2 separate regions of the Homo sapiens genome follow, and region 1 is linked to region 2. Evidence: promoter capture Hi-C in 16 types of primary human blood cells and fetal thymus (Javierre and others, 2016). All regions are on one chromosome and are shown on one strand. The core of a region is centred on a gene start or on the middle of the fragment in contact, and the rest is flanking DNA. Distances in the headings are between cores, read along the strand shown. Region 1 holds the start of ZFPM2-AS1 (ZFPM2 antisense RNA 1). Region 2 holds the start of OXR1-AS1 (OXR1 antisense RNA 1).

The links. Contacts are between HindIII fragments. The CHiCAGO score rates a contact against its expected background, and 5 or more counts as called.
Region 1: a contact is called between the fragment with the promoter of ZFPM2-AS1 here and the fragment with the promoter of OXR1-AS1 in region 2, in 2 of 17 cell types (endothelial precursors and M1 macrophages). The highest score is 8.9, in endothelial precursors.

What each region holds. Positions count from the first base shown.
Region 1 is chr8:106,058,800-106,064,098 of GRCh38, reverse strand. It overlaps ZFPM2-AS1 (ZFPM2 antisense RNA 1), which reads left to right and starts at 3,596. Exons shown (of 5, transcript NR_125797.1): 1 at 3,596-3,718. RefSeq lists an enhancer at 2,902-4,101. The HindIII fragment of the contact is 2,678 bases long and covers 1,703-4,380 here.
Region 2 is chr8:106,655,281-106,661,033 of GRCh38, reverse strand. OXR1-AS1 (OXR1 antisense RNA 1) reads left to right here and starts at 3,314. Exons shown (of 3, transcript XR_007061059.1): 1 at 3,314-4,923. All of the region lies in intron 3 of OXR1 (oxidation resistance 1), which reads right to left. RefSeq lists enhancers at 1-147, 148-648, 3,214-3,423 and silencers at 2,704-2,853, 2,894-3,143. The HindIII fragment of the contact is 2,439 bases long and covers 1,707-4,145 here.

The sequences.
Region 1 (5,299 bases), core at 2,347-4,846, 600 kb after region 2:
ACATCAGGACAGAAAGTTGGGATAGGTTGGAATTAGTCATGAGTAGGAGCAGGGCAGAGACGGGGAGGTCACGCATAGCAGTTATCATTTGATGCAGTTTCTCAGATATTCCATTTGTTTAGAAAGTCAGAGAGCTAGCCAAACATCCCATACACTAAAGCATGAGCTTCCTTACATGGTGTCCTCTAGAAACTGGCATTTAAGTTAGCATTTGTCATGAAATTCTACTCTTCTCTGAATTCAAGTATGCAGGGTCAGAGAATTAATCTCTAGATTCTGAAAGAGCCTTACAGATAGCGTTGTTTCATATAATCATTCCTAGCAACCTCTGCAAAATCATTAATAATATATTTTAAATATATATAATATATTTTAAGAAGCAGAATGTGAAGACACATGCAAGGAGTCATTTTTAGACTTGAGTACCTGCAATCTGCATGCTTCTATGAAAACAAGTAAACAGTACTAATCTGATTTTATTTTTAATAATGATATTAGGGTTAAAATTATATAACTTTCCACATACACAGCTTATCTTGATTTTTTAACCACACATAATATCCATGTAGGCAAGGAAAAGAAATGCAAAGTCTGGATCCCTACAAAGATATTACCTTAGTAGAATATGCAGTTAACTGCAATGTATATAACATACAATTATTAAAGGATCAATGTTATTGTGCATTCATTCATTCAACAAATATATATTTACTGAGTCCTATTAAGTGCAAGGTACTATTCTAGGGCTTGTCTTATAGTGATAAAAAATCAGTCACAAATATCTGGCAGAACTCCATTGCTAGTTCACCGTGGGTTCTTTCTGATGGTAAAGGCTGCTTGCTTGTTGATAGTTTTCTTTGGAAAGAGATCCCAGGAAACTAAAATGAAATGACAGAGAACACAGAAACAGGGAAAGAAATAAACGCAATTCAAGGATGCATTATTGAGCTGGTTGCCATGTAGGCTCTCTGAGGAACAGTGTAAAGAGCATCTCTGAATGGTCTATCCTAGGCATAGGAGTGGGAAATTTTAGCCACTGGCTTCCATCTTCTATTGATCAAATATTGCCCAAGGGTGTAATGACTCCCTTGTACTTCCTGGTATACCGTAAACAGCATGGCTATGTGAACACTTTCAGATTTTCATGTTGAACAACAAAAAAAGCCCAGGACAGCAAGTAAGAGATATACAGCCCAAAGTGCTACAAGGGTACCCCTGCACGCAGCCAGTTGGTGCAGCAATAGCTGGAAAAAAATATGTTCCAAAAGGACATATGAGAAATCTTCATGCTCCACTTCATATGCTGGTTGGACATACTCATCGTATAGCCTTATAATATGTAGCTGACTGCAATCTCTACAAAAGAACTCCATTCTAGAATTGCTTGAATCCGGGACACAGAGGTTGCAGTGAGCCAAGATTGTGCCACTGTACTTCAGCCTGGGCAACAGAGTGAGACTCCGTCTCAAAAAAAGCAAAACAACAACAACGACAAAAAAACCATTCTGAAGGCGTGTTAGTTTTCTGGGGCAGCTGTAACAAATTACTGCAAGCTGAGTGGCAAAATAAGAAAACCAAAAAACCCCAAAAAACCAAACAAACAAACAAAAAACAAAAAACCCTCAATCCTCCCCAGCCACACAGACACACAGACACACACACACACACACACACACACCCCACACACAAAAAAACAGAAGCTTACTCTCTCTCCATTCTGGAGGCTAGAAATCTTAAAATCAAAGTGCTGTCTCTGGAAGCCTCCAGAGAATGATCCTTCCTTCCTTTTCCCGCTCCTAGGCATTCCTTGGCTTGGGTAGCATAACTCCAATTTCTGTCTCCATCTTCACATGGCTGTCTTCCATCTGTGTCTGTCTTCACGTGGCATTCTCCTCTCCATGCGTCTCTGTCTCTGTGTCTACATTTCCCTTTCCTTATAAGGACACCAGTTATATTGGATCAAGGGCCCACCCTACTCCAGTATTATTTCATCATAACTAATTAAATCTGCAAAAACTGTATTTCCAAGTAAGGTCACATTCTAAGACACTGGAGATTAGGATTTTGACATATGTTTTTGGAGGATGCAATTTAATCCATAAGAGTTAGTGGAAAAAGGTAGAGGTCCCACTGCTGCAAATGGTCCTGATGCTATAGCTGATACTTCTCATCCCTTTTCTCCACCACCCATTCTAGACTTTCCTCATACTCAGCCAATATGTCATTGCATCTAAGTTATTTGTGTGGTAGAGTAACTTCCACTGGATAGAGCAGAAGCTCTGTAAGTCTTTACCCTGGCAGGGGGCAGGAATGCAACTCTACATCTGGGATACATGTAATTTTCTTTATAGAATAATCAGTAGAAGCAGTAGCTAGATCAACATTAGGAGGTCCATGCTTTGGGTCTGTGCATAGACTCTATTCCTGACTTTGTGCTCATATATCCACTGTGCATAATCTAGGTGGTTGAGGAGGTTGGCTGATATCCACAGAATAAGTCATCCTTCCTCCCTAGCTGTTGAGTGCTTCTTATGTAGCAGATGTTCTCCTACAGGCATTAATGTGCCAGCAATCCTCCACACCCTTTGTACTACTCCAATAGGTTCATAAACTTGCCTCAACACAAATTTCATTTTTACTCTCTTCTAGTCTTGCCACTACCAGGCTTCTGCCCATGAAGACAAGCCCAGCAGTTCCATATATCTTTACCTCATATTACTCTTCTTTGCAGCCAAGATGAATAACCAGGTTTGCTTGCAGTTCTGCTCATTGAGAGGATGTTCCTTTACCCCCAGTCTTCAGGCAGTCCCTGGGTGGGGCTGGAGTGATGGCATACCATTTTATACTTTTACTAACCTATCAGCCAACTGATCCCATGGACCAAGCTCAGGCTTTTCCCCTTCAGTTAGTTGATTGTAAGGAAGCCCCTATGAGGCCATGGGTTCCAGCTGAGATGAATTATCCTTCAGAGTTCTTTCTTGCTTGTTTCTACTTATATTTGGAACAGGCAATTTGCAAAGGTAGAAAGGAAAAACATCAATTAGGTAGATACTACAATAACTAAAGAGTTAAGTATCAAAATTTTAACTCATGAGGTGATGGTAAGAAGTGAAAACATCGCCTCTAAGAAATATTGGGCAGATAAAATAGAATGCAACAATTCAAAAGAGAAGGATGCTTTAATGTAAGGAGAAAAGCTGTGACTTTAGCTTTAAATATACTAAGATGGAGGTGGTGAGGGTATTCAACCACAAACCTACATTCTATGTGCCCAGGATTGTTCAAGGTATGTGTCAGGTTCTAACTGAGGTCCGAGGGGAGTCAGTGGGTGAGTGGTGGGTAGCCGGAAAAACACTGGGGGAATCGTAGACAGTTTTGACATGGCTTTTCTCTCTCTCTGCGCATAAGCCATATGTACAGCATCAGCAGTGTAGTTATAACTTTTACAGACGACAGTGGCTCTGAATCAAGCACGCGCTCACGTGACTGGTTACTAATGCGCCTCACGTGGCGTGGTTACCTAATGAGCTGAGTTGTGTGAGTGAGCTCCAAACTCACTGAGTCATGCTGGACCGGATGTCTGCTTCGACCTATTCTTGACCGCAGCACATCCGTTTTCCTTACAGTATGTAGTACGCATTCTACCTTTTCCTACAATGAATCCACCAGCAGAAATTCCTGTACACATCTTATCAACAAAGAATTTGAACCTCAAAGAGTAAGTACTTTCTCCAGAGTGTAAGATTGTTAATGTCTGTGATATTCTTTGAAGTGAGGCAAGTAAATACTTCTCAACATGTTTTCTTTTCCTGCTCCTCTTTCTCCTACTTCTTTCCTTCTTTTTTCCTCCTCTTCCTGTTATAGGACTAGCAAGTACACAGGACCACTGTACAGTAACAGATCAGTTACACTGAGACAACAGAGTTTACAGCAGAGAAAGAGTTTAATGCTCACCGGATACCAAGTGAGGAGATGGGAGGAGACCCTCAAGTTCGTCTCCCCAAGGAGCACTTGGCTGGGGTTTTTAATGGGATCATGGAGGGTGAGAGGTTGGAGCATTGAGATTGTTGATATTTGGGGTAAGGGGGATGACATCATGAGGATGTAGAAACTGCATTCTTTGGTGAGTCAGCTTCTTGTGGGGTCCTTCAGACTAGCTGATGTCAGTAGTTTCATTCTTTTACAGGGCTTGCAGGACTTGAAAGAATAGAACTTATGTTTTCCCTTTGAGGTATTTTAAGTTTTTATCTGTAGAGCAGTGAAGGGGAACGGTAATCTTGTAACAGGGTCTATGTAATTCGGAGGCAATAGGCAAACAACTATGAGGAATGGATCACAGAGCATCTAACATAATGATTAATGCTGGGTGTGCTGCAAGCTTGCTTTATTTTCATTTCTCCCCGTCCCTTCTTCCCTGATTGAATTTATAAAGTTTACAGGAGCAGTTTCACTCATGGTAACTATATCTTGGTTTTGAATTAGACTGTCAGTATAGACAGGAAATACGGCACTGCTCACAGTTGATGCTTCATAAATATTTTGGGGGAAAAAGTTCTTACACATTACTCCTCCTGATCTCCGAAATTTGAGTTTGAAATAACTTAAGTAAAACCTTTGAACATTGTTATTTACCAGCTGCAAAAGTTTAAAATATGAAATTTACCTCAGTACAACCCCTCTTGAATGATTTAATTTTATACTTTAAAAGCTACATTTCATCCTATCTGTTTTTTGGCAAAAAGTAATTGAAGCCAACTATTCTTTTCTTTTTCATAATCCCACATGTACAGTTCTTAATTAAGCACAATTAAAATCAGCTTTTTCTGTCTTATTTTGTATTCTCATTCCATATGCTATATGTTCTTTATTTCTATTAAAAAGATGTACTTTTAATAAAAATGGATCTTTCTTCCTTTCTTATATTGCTATGATTTTATAGCTTTCAAATCCATTCTTAATTAGGTTCTGGTGCTGGTGATTATTAAGTTCTTCACACTTCTCTCATAGTGGAGCTTAAGGTAAGATAAAGGAAATGACAATTCCCAACCTTGTCTAGCCTTGAGGAAGAGGGTCAGAATAATATTGGTGGAACTTGAGCTGGAATGACTCTAGATTTAAGCAAAATTTGCGTTTCTTTGGCCATTAATTCAGAATGAAGGATGAGTTTGTGTCACGTGTGCCTCCTGAAGTACTCTGAGATTGCCTATGTACTCACAGGCTCATTCTAGTCTGTGAAAATCCTTTTTTAAACCGGCCTGAAACCCAGGAGCCTCATAAAAAAAGAGAGAAAAATCAATGC
Region 2 (5,753 bases), core at 2,065-4,564:
GCTAATTTTTGTTTTTGTTTTATTTTTGAGATGGAGTCTCGTTCTGTGGCCCAGGCTGGAGTGCAGTAGGGCGATCTCACTGCAACCTTGCCTCCTGGGTTTAAGCGATTCTCCTGCCTCAGCCTCCCGGGTAGCTGGGATTACAGGCACGCACCACCACGCCCAGCTAATTTTTGTATTTTTAGTAGAGACAGGGTTTCACCGTGTTGGCTAGGCTGGTCTCGAACTCCTGACCTCAGGTGATCCGCCCGTCTCGGCCTCCCAAAGTGCTGGGATTACCGACGTGAGCCACCGCAACTGGCTGACATTTGACCAAAATTTTATCTGGTCTATCCTTAATCTGTCAATGGTGAAACTATCTTATCAACATCATTGCTGAACATGACTCCCTCCACCCCTTCTTGATGCGTAACTCCTCCGATGTTGGGTTGTGAGAAGGAACAGAAACAAGGTTCTACTTTTTCATCTTAGTGGATGAAAGGAGGAATAAGATCACTAACAACAAAGGGTTTCCTGGAATGCAGTCAATTTACATGTGTGAAAGTATCTGTAACAAGAAATACTCCTATAATACACAGGGCTTCTTAAAGAACTGAAGAAAGAATGATAGCAGGAAACTTAAGCAGCTATTAAGAAACTGAAATAAGAGTAGAAAGAGCAGAAGAAATCCTTCAAACAGACTGACAGACACTCATTCTAAAGGACACAAACACAAAGAACAACCCTAGAGCCAAAATCCATCTGAGAAGCAGCTGCAAAGCACAGAATTCTCATTTTAAACAAAGGCTAGCTGGAAACATATGAAGAATCATTTATTTTTCACTTGTGTATATACACGTTGCCTCTCAAAAGTCAGCTAGTTTTCACTAATTCTGCTCCAAATGAAAATGCTCTAGAATAGAGAATTTTGAAATCACCAAATCCAACCTCATTTACAAAGAAGAAAATATAGGCCCAAAGACACTAAGTAACTTGTCCAAATTCTTTCAGGAAGTTAATGCTAGGACGTACCTGCCCACATGACTGTGGTCATACTTTGACCTCACAACGCCTCTCTAATGTGTCAGAGATTTGGGGGCACCATGACTATTAAAGAATATGCAATGAATACATAAGGCAGCTTCAACAGAAGAGGAATACATATCACTTCAGAAGCGCCACTTTGAAGGAGGGTGTCAGATATAGCTGTGTGCTCCACATATATAAACACATAAGTGTCTCTCTGCTGCCCAGTCTGGATTCTCCTCCTGGGCTCAAAGGATCTTCCCGCCCCAGCCTCCTGAGCAGAGTAGCTGGAACTACAGACACGGGCCACCGAATGAATCAGATACACGTGTTTGGCCATATTTATTAAAATACTAACCATATTCCTTTTTAGTTAAGTTACCCCACATATTTCTGAATTCTCCACCCATTTCAAGGCTGGTCACACATCAACTGTTTTCAATTAGGCTACTGAAAACTCATTTTAAAAAGTCCTTGATTTGAACACTTTAAAGTCCCTTTCCTATGCCTGGTCCCACCTTTAAGAGGATTCTGCATTTGGTTAACGTCCTTCAGAGCAGAAACAAAAGTATTCCCCTCCCCTTTTCATTTCCTAATTCCATAAACAGCATTTCTAAAGATAAAAAATATTTTATGTAAAGTAAGGAAAATTTATTTTAAAGGGCTATGCTAAAATGAGACTTTAATATTTCTTCAAAGCTTAAATTACATACCTACACACATAGATCAAAAATGTCCTCACTGTTTTACTGCTTTAAAACAACTGGCAGGGCCCAGCATGGTGGTTCAGGCCTGTAATCCCAGCACTTGGGAAGGCCTAGGCAGGAGGATCACTTGAGGCCAAGAGTTAAGACCAGCCTGGGCAACACAGCGAGACTCCATCTCTACAAAAATAAAGTAAGATAAAATTTAAAATAAAATGACTGGCACGATGTGGAGTTATAAACAGATTTTACACACTTTGTGCCTATCTCTATTTTCTAAACTCTCTAATGCTCATTTATTTTCATAACCCTCAAATATTAAAGCAATTAACAAAAATAAAAATCAGACATGGCTAGGATGTCTGCTACCTGTTAAACGAAGCCAAGGACACTGGAAGTTACCCTATGCATTATGCTAAAACTGTTCAGCAGCACTTTCAAAAATTCTTTAAGTTATCAATATCATGTCGCTACAAATGACTGTTTTAAAGAATGGTACAAAGCCACTGTGGTGAAAAAAATCGGCCAACACAACACAAAATAAACAGGAACTGAGAAAGTTTCTAGGTTCTGCCACCACAAGACAACGTGCAGCCGTTCAAAAAGTACACGACGCAAAATGTCAACTAGCTTCCAATGTTAATGAAGTGTTTTATTTTACAAAGAAGTATCTGGCTTTTTATTTTTCGGTTAGGAAGTGAATCCTAACAACTGAGAAATATTAAGGAAAGACTGACCCAAACCAAAACCAAAGCAGGCACAGCGCTCTTCAAGAATCCAAGACTGAAAACACGGACGTCATAACTGGTTCAGTCTTCACCTCCCAGTGGGAGGGAAAGAGAGAATGGATCGTCCCCTTGAAATACTTGGCGGGGAAAGAAAATCAAGTCTAGGTGAGGAAAGCAGGAAGAGCAGAGCAGGAAGAGCTGGCACGCAGCTGAAAGTCTTCCCTCCCCAGAGCCGAACGAGTCCTTCCTTCCTCGCCCCCGGCGGCCGCCACCCCGGCCACGTTGCCCGCCCCGGCCCAGGCACACCTGCCAGAGCCGGGCAGCGACCCCCGCCCGGCGCCACGACCGCCGCCTCCCCACAGCCCTCAGCCCAGGTCGGCCGCGCGGGAGGCGAAAGAAAGGTGGGCTCACCAGGTCCCTCCGGGCTGGACGGCGCCGGGGGCCGGTGGGGCGGGGACCCGCACCCGAGGTCCCCCTGGGCTGGCTCCCTCAGGTAATCTTCGAAGCGCACCTGCCGGGCTTCGCCGCCGCCCCCGAACCCCAACAGGCGGTTGGCCGTGCCCCGCAGAAGGCGCCCACTCTTCTCGGTGAACGTCGTCAGGTAGTCCATGCTGCCGCGGGGCTGGACGCGGAACTGGGGCCCAGGAGGTCGACGGTTTCGGCGGTGGCGGCCACCACTAGCGCGCCCACCGGCCCATCAGACCTGACCCAGGGGAGGCGGCTCCGCGCGCCTCACAAGAGGCGGGGAGGAGGAGGGGGCGTCCCTCTCTCTGCCCGGGGACGGACCATCAGGAAACCACGCGTCGGGGGAGCAAAAGACGGACAAAAGTTTTCGAAAAGTTTTTCTTGTGGCTTCTAAATGCAAAATGAGGCAGAACTTAGCTTGTCACATAGGTGTATTCTTCCTGGAACCGATGCGGGGTCAGAAAACTGATGGCTTTTAAGCAAGCTGGACGGGTCCTCTCAGCGCATTCCCCCACCCGCCTGGCGCCAATGGAGCTGGCCTGGCCCGCCCAGCCCCTCCCCGCCCCGTCCGCGCTCGGACCGGACTTTCAGGACTGCAGGGGAAAGGGTGGACACCCAGCCTCCCGCCAGGTCAGAGCAGAGGCTAAAAATGGCCCAGGGGAGACTGCTGGAGTTGCATGGAGTTCGGGAGCCTAGGAGGGGTCTGAAAATAACTGTCAAAAAGTTTGAAGGGTGTGTGTTGGCTTGGGGAAAAAAGAGGGTGGAGTGCATTACATAAAACTTTTGCAGCTTGTATTTCCTTTTTTTTTTTTTATGTTTAAGGACGGCGGAGATACCTTCAACGTAAGACTGCAATCATAATTAAAACATGAATAGTAACATTTTAAGTTCGTTGTGCCATTATGAACTCATGTTAGTGTTGGACATTCTATGATCCCAGTCCTGTTTAGGCAACGTTATTGAGGGATTTAGTTTGCGGATCTACCTTTCAGGGACAAAGAACCTAGACAGGGAAAGAACAGTAACTTTTGACAGAAATTTTGCTTCCTGTGAGATGTGGTTATTCTCTTCCTTTCACATCTGTTTGTAGTTCTTTTAGTTTTCCCAGGCATTAAATAAATTAAACCCTCTTTCTTGGAATCACCAATATATTAATATATTGGGGGGAAAAAGATTTGAATTACTTAGGAAGTTGATGAACTACCCACTCCAACAATAGAGCCCTGAAAATCAGGCTTAAGCTTTTGGCCATACTACTAAAGACTATCCCTCCTGACAAACACACACCCTCTTTTTTTTTTTTTTTTTTTAACTGGTTGACAGATCTTTTTTGCATCATCACCATTTTCAGTTTAGATTCTTACTAGGTGGGATAAATTTCACCATTCTAATATCAGCCATCACCATTATGCCTGGTGAAAAATACAGAATGTCTGGGCTGCATCCTCAGAGTGTCTAATTCGGTGTTTATGGGAAAGGGACCCAGGAGAATCTGCATACCCAGCAATCCATGTTTTCAGGGTTGTGGCTTGGGAAAGAACTGTTCCAGACTTCTGCACTTCCTAAGGACCTATTTTGTAGATGTTGCAGTGGACGGAATGTTTGTGCTTTCCCTTAAATTCATTTGTTAAAATCCTAACCCCAATGTGATGGTATTAGGAGATGGGGCCTTTGGGAGGTAATTCATAGCATAGAGGCCGCATGAATGCGATTAGTGCCCTTATAAAAAAGGGACCCAGAGAGCTGTCTCCATCTTTCTGCCACAGGAGGATACAAAAATACATCAGTTTGCAAACCAGAAGAAGGTCCTCACCAGAAACCAACTATGCTGGCACCCTGATCTTGGACTTCTAGCCTCCAGAACTGTGAGAAATAAATGTGTGTTTATAAACCAGTCAGTCAGTCTATGGTGCTTTATTATAGCATCTGGAACGAGCTAAGACAGCTGCTAAGTAGCATTCCATTTGACAAGGAAGACTTACCATTCACACTACTTCTGAGTTCAATGAAAGAGAGGCTCGGTAAGTTTTAAAAATCAAATTTCAATGACTTAGTCTAATTCTCATTAATAATTTAAATTATTTTTCTAAGATATGTTTTACATCTTCTAAAAATTTACCGGTTTGTTATAAGCATATCCAATTAATGCTTGAGATTTTACCTGATTAGATCTGCACTTTTACATCCAACATTTGCAGGAAGCTTCATTCTACCAGTTCAAATCCAGATTTACAGGTAGTTAACCCATCTGTTTTGGGTTTTTTTTCTGCTTCTATTTCATAGAAGGCTAGAGCTGCTGGAGAAAAATGTATAACCTTGATGACTGAATGCCTTACAATCTTTGATTTAAACTCGGCTGAGTCGTAATGTCTCTAAAATCCTTCTATTCATATAGTCAGTGTTCTCTTTTATTCTCTGTATTTGTTGTCTGAACTGTCATCATTATCCTAAAGTTACCAAATTCATCACTTGAACATGTTACTTTGCCTTCTACATGACCCAGAAAATCATAGGCCATCAAATATGAACATTCATTTTTCTTTCCTTTTTCTCTTCAATCTACATCAAGTTGCTCTCCCTACCTTGCTTTAGAAGGAGGTCTTTATTCCTGTCCATGCCTTTCTTCCAGATTTTCTTTTGATAGTCTAATTATGTTGTCTGTGACTTGCCAGCTTTATTATTCCTCTCTGTTCCTTTTCACTATATTTCCTTTCCTCTTATCCTTCCTCTATCAGCCACATAAGTCACTCAGCCTTAAAAAAAGCTTGCTTATATGCCATGCCTGCTTTTTCACGCTACCTTTTGCCTCATTAAAAAAAAAAAACTTTATTCATATGTAATTTAAGTACTG